Regions from separate parts of the Homo sapiens genome. Here region 1 is linked to region 2. The links are contacts of gene promoters, found by promoter capture Hi-C in blood cells and fetal thymus (Javierre and others, 2016). All regions are on one chromosome and are shown on one strand. Each heading gives the region's core, a stretch centred on a gene start or on the middle of the fragment in contact. The rest is flanking DNA. Distances are from core to core; before and after follow the strand shown.

What was found. The method cuts DNA at HindIII sites, captures the fragments that hold promoters and counts their contacts. A CHiCAGO score of 5 or more calls a contact.
Region 1: a contact is called between a fragment that was not itself captured here and the fragment with the promoter of PHF20L1 in region 2, in 1 of 17 cell types (total B cells). The highest score is 8.5, in total B cells.

Annotation. Positions count from the first base shown.
Region 1 is chr8:125,086,803-125,091,862 of GRCh38, reverse strand. WASHC5 (WASH complex subunit 5) reads left to right here and starts at 71. Exons shown (of 29, transcript NM_014846.4): 1 at 71-248. It overlaps NSMCE2 (NSE2 SUMO ligase component of SMC5/6 complex), which reads right to left and starts at 3. Exons shown (of 8, transcript NM_173685.4): 1 at 1-3. RefSeq lists an enhancer at 1-131 and a silencer at 182-351. The HindIII fragment of the contact is 205 bases long and covers 2,148-2,352 here.
Region 2 is chr8:132,771,518-132,776,952 of GRCh38, reverse strand. PHF20L1 (PHD finger protein 20 like 1) reads right to left here and starts at 1,565. Exons shown (of 21, transcript NM_016018.5): 1 at 1,308-1,565. It also overlaps a transcript of TMEM71 not described here. RefSeq lists a silencer at 1,131-1,580 and an enhancer at 1,335-1,836. The HindIII fragment of the contact is 4,916 bases long and covers 1-2,452 here.

The sequences.
Region 1 (5,060 bases), core at 1,001-3,500, 7.7 Mb after region 2:
GAGAGCGGGCTCTTGCGTCATCAGCCGTCGCCGGCGAGTGGTCACATGATGCCCCTCCCTGCTCCCAGCCGCTTCGGTCATGTGACCGCCTGGGGAGTCAGGGGCGGAAGTCGGGGTCTGACCCGCTCCAGGTCCGGGACTGCGGATAGAAGAGGACCGCCGCCTTGAGGGAGGGGTGGAAACTGGGTGCCGGCTCCGCGCGCGACCTCCGGCCCTGCGCGTGCGCCGTGGCGCGGCCCGGCTGACAGGTGAGTGGGGATGGAGTGAGCGCGCCCCATTTTTGCATGGCCCCCTTCCCCTCCCCGCTGGGCCGCGCTGGCCACGGGGAGGTCTGCAGAGTCGCGTGCAGCCTGGATGGGGGACTCGGGATGGAGGGCTTAGGGGCTTTCTGGGGCGGGGGCTGTAATCCAGCTCTTCGTCTCCGCTTAGGGGGAAATCATTTTGCACACCCCTTCCTCGCTTTAGGAAGCACCGTTCAGCTGCTTGGTCCGAATCTCATCCTTCCAAGTTTCCGGGAACACTGCTGTATGGATGTCGTCGTTATTTCTCTTTGCTTTTGAGAAAACTGAAAGGCTAGTAGTGAGGACTTTTACAGGCTGACAGACGTGGATTTGCATTCTAGTTATGCCATGGGCTGTGAGTTTGGGCAAGTCATTGCTGCTCGCCGCGCCTTAATGCCTTCACCTGTGACATACTGATGTCAAAATCCTTTGCATTTGGGGGAAAAAAAAAAAGTTCCCAGGGCCCTGATTCCTGGGATCGGAATCAGGATTATGATCGGACAGGAGAAAGAAAAAAAGTCACAGAGCCATAAAACTGGGTCTCCTGATTGCAAGCGCATGGAGCTCCCTCAAACATAGGTGAGGCGTAGTGAGGGCGAAGTTTTACTGTCTTTGTGCACTACAAGGGACACCTTCTCTAATTGTCCTTCACCTGCCTTTCCCAGGATTTCAGGTTCAGCCTCATTTCAGAACTTTTCTGGAAAATATATGCAGCTTGCATTTATCTTGATCAGCAACCGTTATATTTTGTTTGTGATAATGGATTTGTGGAGACCAGTGCTTCCTTTATGGAACTGAGGTTTTGCGAAAGGCTAAAAATAGACCTGCCTTCTTTTGTCCTCTGAAGAGGGTAAACTGTTTGTCCACGACAATTCGATTTCCTTAAGAAATATTATTCTGTACTCAGGGTAATTGGTGTAAGGATGTCATGCCTTATTCTTGAAAGCATGTCTTTTGATTAGGATTACTTCCCAAACTGAAAATCACAGTTCCACGCCAAATTATTAAAAATGAAGTTACCGGCACTTGTAAAAGAAAATAAGAAAATATAGTGGGATCTCTGGATTTCATGCCAATAATAATATAGCCTGTATTGAGAAAACTGATCTTCAAGTGTTCTTGATCCCTAGCACCAAGAGAACCTCTGAAAGGATAATTTAACATAGCTTCTTCTACAGTGTTTATTTGGACCTAATTCTAAAGTGGTTTTTTAAGACTTAGCTGAGTCTTAACACTTTGTAAAGCCATCCACCTACCTCTTAGCTGCAACTTGATTAGGCATTTTTAATGATGGTTCTTAGATTCTGTTCTTCAGGACTAGTCCTTCAGCCAACGAGGGGGCTATTTACCAAATACTCTAGCCAAATTATATTTGTACAAATTATGGAAATTCCATTTGTTACATGGAAAATATAACTAGTCCGGGTTAGGAGGTCTAGTACATAAAATGTAACTAAGTGATTTCCTTCTTTCAGCTAATCTTGTTTTAACTTCTTCCATCTTCAAAAACTTAGCAGGAGATGCTTGCATTATTAGAAATAGAAAACACAAGTGCCCTTCATGGGGCAAAACAGATTACAAGCAGTGAGTTCATTTCAGTAAAAGTATATTAAATATAACTCATATGCTTTTGCATTAAAAATTTAATATAAAGTTTATATATAGAATTTTAGAAAGGTGATTTACCTAGGTAATAAAGACCCATAATATTTGTTTTACTATTGCCGAACATATTTGGTTATTATTATCCTCCTCATGTTCTTTTAAAGTTGTCTACAGCGTAATTCTTGAGTAAGGGACTAAGGATTAAAACAAGAGATTGACACACGAAAGTCTTGATCTCTGTCGTTATCCCAGACTGAAGCTTCCCCGAATGTGTGCATGCAGGTGCTGAGTCTGTCTGTCCTTCTGTATGTTGGGAGAGAGTAGAGTAAAGGGCAAGTAATGTTACTTTGCTTTAAGTTGTTTTTCCCAGGGCCACATTGTTGCCCTGTCATGGTATCCCAAATCGGGTAGCCATTGGACCTGTTAATCATAGCTTGTCCTCCTCTTCATGAGTCTAGAGCAAGCTTGTGTAGCCTGAGGCCTGCAGGCCACATGCGGCCCAGAATGGCTTTGAATGTGCCCCAATACAAATTTGTAAACTTGCTTAAAACATTATGAGATTTTTTTGCGATTTTTTTTAAGGTCATCAGCTATTTTTGGTGTTAGTGTATTTTATGTGTGGCTCAAGACAATTCTTCTTCCAATATTGCCCAGGGAAGCCAAAAGATTGGACACTCCTGGTGTAAAGTTTCATCCTACTTAGACCTTCTGGGTTAGTTTGGTGGTCTTCAGAGGGCTTTAGTATGTGACTGTTTTGCCCACTGTCCATTATTTCCCCTTTCCCTCTCTGCTTTCCCAAGCCAGACCATATCCATGCAGAAAATGAAATGAAATTATCTGAAATTCAGCCTGTTAGAGATCAGTGTGGTTTAACAAGCAAGTATCACAGAGGAAACTAAAAGAACTTGTTAATAATGTATGCCTTAATGTGTATTACAGGGTACCTTCATGGGAGTTCTAGACAGCTGTAGTGGCTTCTTGGCTCTCAGATCCAATCCAGTCTACTTCTTCTGTTTCCGCCCCTAGCTGACTCTGCTCCAGCCACTTTAGCCACCTTGCTAGCCATCTAGCACATTCCTGCCCTGGGGCCTTTGCACTTACTTGTAACCTCTGCTTGGGATGCCATTATTAGGATCATTATCTATTGCTGCATAATAAACTATGCCAGAACCCAGTGGCTTAAGACAATAAGCTTTATAGCATCTATGGTCCGGAGGGTAGGGCATAGCTGGCTGCCTTTGGCTCTGGGGCTTTTAGAACATTGCAGTCAGGCTGGGAACAAGGAGCTATGGTCTTATCTGAAGGCTGGACTGGGATTATAAGGGATCTACTTTCAAGTTCACTCAGGTGGTTTTTGGCAAGCCTCAGTTCCTTGTCATATGGGCTTCTCCCCAGGGCTCTCTCACACCATGATATGTTGCTTCCCCTGGACTAGCAAGCTACAGAGGGTGCCCAAGCCAGAAGTTAGTCTTTTCGAAATCTAATCTCAGAAGTGCACTGTATCTTTTGTTTCTATCCTATTTCCTTCCCCCCCTCCCCCTTTTTTTTTTTTGAGATGAAGTCTCACTCTGTCACCCAGGCTGGAGTGCAGTGGTGCAATCTCGGTTCACTGCAACCTCCGCCTCCTGGGTTTAAGCAATTCTCCTGCCTCAGCCTCCCGAGTAGCTGGGATTACAGGTTTTTGCCACCATGCCTGGCTAATTTTTGTATTTTTAGTAGAGCCGGGGTGATCCCGGCTCTCCTAACCTCAGGTGATCCATGTGCCTCAGCCTCTCAAAGTGCTGGAATTACAGGAGTGAGTCACCACACCTGGCCCTATTCTCCTCTTTAGGAGGGAGTCAGTAAGTCAGCTTATACTCAAGGGAAGGAACCTACATAGAACATGAATACCAGGAGGCAGAGATCATTAGGGACCACTTTAGAAAGCTGCTGACCATACCCAGATATCCATACTGCTTGCTCTCTCATTTCCTTCTGACTTCTGCCCGAGGTGCTCTATGGAAACTAGCATATGCCCCATCCTTTATTATGTTTTTTCTTCACGGCACTTATCACAGCCTAATATATAAAGCTCATTTTCACAAATTTCAAGATACATTTGTAATCAAAACTTTTTCTTCTCCTTTTTATGAAACATTTTTCTGTATTTTGTAATCACTCTAGCATTTTTCAGATATGAACTATTCTTAATAGCAAGAATCTCCTATACTTGACATGTGAGAAAATTTTTTTTTTTTTTTTTTTTTGAGAGAGGGTCTCATTGTCACCCAGGCAAGAGTGCAGTGGCACGATCATGGCTCACTGCAGCCTCAACCTCCAGGGCTCAAGCAATCCTCCCACCTCAGCCTCCCTTGTCACTGGGACTACAGGCTCGCACCACCATACCTGACTGATATTCTTTTGATTTTTAGTAGAGACAAGGTCTCGCTATTGTTGCCCAGACTGGTCTTGAACTCTTGAGCTCAAGCATTCCTCCTACCTTGGCCTTCTAAAGTACTAGGATTACAGGTGTGAGCCACCGTTGCCAGGCCTAAAAACATTTCTAAAGATTGTTCCCTCACCTACTTGTTGTTCCCTCACCGACTTCTAGTGGTTTTTAGGACATAGCTCTCTTTTTCCAAAGATAAGACAAATGGCACAATTCCTGTAAGGAAATTGCAATAATCAGCGGAAGCAGAGAACTGAAAAGATGGGGATTGGAGGAAAATGCAGTAGTACAATACAGAAATAGCTACATGGACATTATTATACAAAAGCAATGACTATATTGCACAGCATTATAGAAAATGAAATATCACAATAACAGCATCAGCATGCTGTTTAAATTGACAACTTGTACTGTTAGTCCTCAAAACTGAATCTCAGCACTATGGCAAACTACCCCAAGACTTATTTGCCCAAAACAATACAATATGTTAAAAATTTATCATGATCCTGTGCATTAGGAATTGGGAAAAGGCACAGAGGGCTTTGCTGGCTGCAGAAGCCGAATAGCCTCATCCCTTATATGTCTAGCACTTCAGCTAGGAAGACTTAAAGAGCTGGGGGCTGAGTGGACCAGGTCAACCCAAGTCACACGTCGGCACTTCAGTTTCTGCTGTCTGCTGGCTTTCTTCATTCTCTTCTGTGTCAGGACTTTTCCCTCTCAGCATGGTCTTTCCTCTTTGTAACTCC
Region 2 (5,435 bases), core at 316-2,815:
ACCGAGCACACTTGAGGTGGCCTCTTTTTCACTAATGGGTATGTGAGGAATATGAATACATTTTGAGATAACCTAATCAAAACATAACTCATAATTAAGAATGTAAATTGATTGTTATCAGGGGCGAGGAGAGATCCGTAAAATGTCTTTCGGTATTTGAGATCACTAATGACTATGTTCCCTACAGTTTAAAAAGAAAAAAAGAAACACACACACTTGTCATCTTTTATAATGGTTTTGTCACAATTCATAATAGACAAAATAGAACAACAAACATAAAATTCCAACTGCTCCCTCTTTTCTCTTTGAAAGAGTCTGATAGGTAAGGGAAAAAATAGCATCAATACTGGCCATGAAAATATGCGAACTCAAATACCCATGGTTGGAGGGGGAGAGTGGGTATCCTCCTGCTATGGTATAAGCAAATATTAGAGCATTAAAAAGTTAACAGGGAGCTTGCCCAGGGTGTAGCTGGTGCAAAAGAACAAATGTATGAATATTTTTAATAGAGGTCTTGTCAGTGCGCAACACGTAAGGCAGTTACTTAAATGTTTGTGTAGAAATCGAATCAACCTTTTCTGCTGTCTGTCACAGGAAGAATTCAGTAAGGGATAGTTCACAAGGTACACTAACATCTAGAATCAAACTTAGAGCCCATAATTAAGTGATGGATTGAATGAGTATAATCCCCCAGTGACACTTAGGGATGAAGTACCAGAAAAAAAACAAGATTTTCCTTTGTCTTAGGTTCGAAGAGGGAAGGATGAAGAGGGATTTGAATTAAGGAACTTTCATAAAGTAAGACAGTCTACTGGGAGTAAAACTTGAAGCAAAAACAAGGCAGAAAGCACGGAGAGGAGTAAAAACAGTAAGGAAAGGAGCAAAGAATGGCAAGAAATAGGACAGTGGAAGTTTTCGGAGATGACAAGTTAGAGGGAAGAAGAAATGAGCAAGAAGACATAGAGACCGACAATGTAAAGCAATGGTCAGAGAATGACCGCCAGGCCAAAAAAGGTGAGGAGGTGAGGCCAGACAGAGAGGGGGTGGCACGAGACAGGCAGGAAAGGCTGACAGGGCTGGCAGGGAGCTGGAGAAGCCTCCAGGTTTGACAGCCATCCGGCCCTCCGCAGGGGGGTAAGGAAGGGAGGGGAAGAGGGAGCTGCGGCGCCCAGACAATAGGGCCGGCGAGTTACGGGGAGGGAGGCGGGAGGGGAGCGGGCCGGAAAGAGAGACACCAGAATGGGGGCGTCCCGGGCGGCCCGGCGGGGGCCAGGCGGCCTGCCGGCTCAGCCGCCGCCGCCTCTTACCGACTCGGCCTCCTCTCTGCACAGCAGCCGGGCCGTCCGGGGCCGAGCTGGGGCACGAGCAGGGCGGCCAGCCCGGGCCTCTGCCTCTGCCTCCGCCCAGGCAGCGGCCGGGGAGGGAGCAGGAGCGGAGCGAGCTGGGGCCGCAGCGCCGGATCCGCCCAAGGTTTCGCGGGAGGGAGCTGGGTCCGAGCCCTCAAGCTCGCTCAGGGTCCGCTGCCATCGCCGCCGCCGCCGCCGCCTCCGCCGCCGGCCAGCCCTGACGCGACGCCGGGCCCCGGCGACGTCAGCCGCCCGCGACGTGCCGGAAGCGGGCCTGGCCTTGTCACGTGACTCACGAGGGTTGGGCCCGGGCCGCGCAGCCGATTGGCGGGCCGCCGTAGGAGGCGGGGCTTTGCGGTCGTTGACGGACCGCTAGCGGGCGGGGCTCTGGTTACTGGAGGAAAGAACGCGAGCTCTTGGTGCCTATTGGTAGTTGTGAAGTATTTGACCTTTGAGATTTGAGGACGAAGGGCATTGTTTATTATTCTTGATTCGTTGGGAACCACGTCACCAAAACCCCTTTACCCAGGACCCTTGGCAAACTTTTTCAAATGCATTACATGCTTTCTTAGATATCCATCCCACTCCACATCAAGAATAGAGCATGGTTACTACTACAAAATCAATAAACCTCCCTTGAATGGATGCTTTGTGATAGACACTAGGCTGTAAATATGTCACATGACAATCACAACTGTACAACTGTATTACAATTGTATTGCTTTCCAGTCTTGGAGATCTTTACAATACAAAGACGAATATTACTAAGATGTGTGTACGCGCGTGCTCAGGCACAGCTGAATAACCTTAACCTATGGCTACATTGATATCACTTCCCCAAGACTACACAGCTAATGATAGCAGAACTGCTTTTATCGAATACCTACCCTCCCAAACTTTACTAAGCACAGGAGACAGTATCCTTGCTGTGGGGAGAAACCAATAAGTGAACACATTGAAAATAATATTGAAATGAAACATCTTTTTTCTCTTGGTTTCCACTGTACCACTCTGGTTTTCAAGTGCAACGTTGCATACAAATGTCACTTATATTTATCTTGCTTCATAGTGTGGAGTTAAAATAGCAAAGTAACTCTCTTTAAGCTTCAGTTATAGTAAGATTTGGTAAATTAAACAATCATTCTTTTTTTATTCAACAAACATTCATTCAGCATCTACTAAGTCACTAATAGCTACTGAGCTAGACTGAGCATGGTGATACATAGAAAAGATATAAATAAGACAGTCTCTAGTGGATATTTGTTATAGAAAAGATATAAATAAGACAGTCTCTAGTGGATATTTGTTATCTTGTTTTTTGGTTGCCCAGCATCTCAACTCTCTTTCCATGTTTGAGAAATTTCTCATCATGGTTGCATTAGTTCAGAACACCAAATACTTGTAGCATCTTCCTTAGGACATGACAGGATTATACTTTCCACCCTCCTTAGAATTATGTATGGCTATTTGATTTGCTTTGGCTGATAAAATGTAATTAGAAGTGAGATTTGTCATGGCCAGTTGGTAATTTTTAATGCCAGCTCACCAAAGTTTCTGTCTCTGGCACAGTGTAAAGCACTGCTTGAGATGATAGCTGCTCTACCATCCAGGTTCTAGACAGATTATGATGAACCAAGGCCTCACTGATAATCTACAACTACTGTGTTGTATAAGGAAAAAAATAAATATTTATTATTTTAACTATGGAGATTTGGGTGCTGGATTGTTTGTTACATGGCATAATCCTACCCAAACTAAATGATACATCCACCTTATGAATCTTGGATGCAGAATCAACCTCCCACTAAATAAGATGAAAATATCAGAAACTCATGTTTCCAGTCTCCCTTGCAGCTAAAGTTCTAGCCTCAAGTAAAACTCTTTTACCAAGGACTTTGTATCAGAAGTTGCTAATGATGTTCAAAATAAGGAAACTTTTCTCCCACATCTGTGGCAGTACCAGTATTCAAGTTTCTGATGGTCAGCCTGGAGTTAAATCTTTCTGAACTCTGGCAGAACCCCTGCTGAATCACAAGCTAGTGACTGAGAAAAAATAAATATCTATTATTATACACCACTAAAAACTTGAGGTTATTTGCAATTTAAATAAAATACATACATAAAGAACAACAGATTCTGTCCATTCTCCCAACTATTTGTTGAGAATCCACCCTGGAAAGATGATTGTTCCATTTTAATTGGAACTTGACAATGGGTCTTCCAATAATGACACTTGAAAGAAAAAAATAAAATAAGGTCTTATGTAAATGATCCCTAGCTTCAGTGAATTGTATAGGCTTAGTAATCCTCTGTGGAGTTAATACCGTCCCCTAGAGGGCACTTTGGAAATGGAGGATGGTATTTTATTGTCTCAGGATTGGGGTAGGGCACTGCTACTATTTAGTGGGAAGGGACCAGGGCTGCTAGATATCCTGAAATGCACAGTGCAGTTCCATACCTTGAAGAATTGCCCCAGGTCATGCATGACTTCTAGATGTCCTTCCAGACATTCATGTAGGTGAAAAACCTGTTTATAATTGTCCCTGCCTAGAACTGCATTTCACATATAAGTATTTTTGGAAGGTTTTAATATACATTAAATTTTACAGGAATGAAGCAACTGTGTAATGTAAGGAAACACTGACCTTTTTTCTGAACATTATCAAGAGTCTATCTCATTTTAAAATATCATGCCACCAACGGCTAATTACTCATAGTATTTGAGGCACTGATAGAATGCACCTGTGTCAGTCTAGTTGCGTAGCTGTTACATTTAGGGAAATCTAAATTTAGATACAAGCACCTCACTACTTCATTATATATTTCTGTGATACATGGATGAATGTTAAGTATTGAAATATATATGATTTTTATGAATTATTTTCATAAATTTTTTATATTATCATAGTCATATTGATTTTTAAGTATATATGTATAGCTTGGTTATGTTATTTATGAAGTTAATTTTGGGAAGTGGAGAGGGTGTGAATATAATATTGACTCTAAAAGGAAGGCACTAAGCCTGATAAAACTGACAAAAAATTCAGGTAGGATGTCATTTCCTCTTTTAACCACATAGAGTCAAAGGTCAGGATCAGAGTAGGGATACAGGATATACAAAATTCTAGTACTGACTCCCTGGCCATGTAGTGAAGCCGTGCATTGATCTGTCCCTTCTCCTCTCTTCCACCCAGCACACCCTGTTCCAGATGGTTGATGCCCAGCCATCAGTCACTCCATCTCCAAATATAGAAAGAAAGAACTTACAGCTGTGTTTGAGCAGAACCAAACAAGCAGTGAGCAAATTATCTTGAAACAACAGTTGTTAGGCAGAAATCACTGAACTAAATTCCTCCAACATTAAAAATATGAATATGGAACCATAATGTCTCCTGGAATATTTAACAAATGTATACCTATTTTAAGGTAGGAAAAAAAGTTACTACTAAATACCAGATACTCCTTGATTACAAATAAAACACAAGATAGCTATTTTTTGTGTGTTTACTTAATATTTACAATTAGCATTAGTAAAGAAAATCAAAGCAGTTCAAGTTTTTTTTAAGGTTAGTTTAGCAGAAACGTAAACTACTGTGATAGCCTCTGTCAAATCTCTTCATTCCATGTGCATAAAAATCTTTGAAAATAGCACTGACATCATTTTCCTCACCTGCCAAAGAGCTCACTTATCTTTCCTCTGTCACCATATCCCTTTATCAACTGAACAGAAATTATAGTTATTCCAGAATTAATCCCTGGCAATAGGAGCTCTAGGCCATGTATGAATTGGCAGAGATGTCATCTCTCCCAGTGTTCCCGCAGCATTTTTTTCACCTCTCTAATGTATTCCTCACTGTGATTCGTAGGTTTATATTCCACTTTCTTAGAATGAGCCAACTCTAAGGATGATAGGGTGTTCCAGATTACTTTAAACATACTTATATATACAAATAAAATAAAGAAATATGATGTTATTAAAGTAAATAATAATACATATATATTATAAATACAAAGTACATAATATTGAAGTAATATATATTACTTTGATATATATGTATATATGTAAGTTTATGTGTTACTCAGTTTACA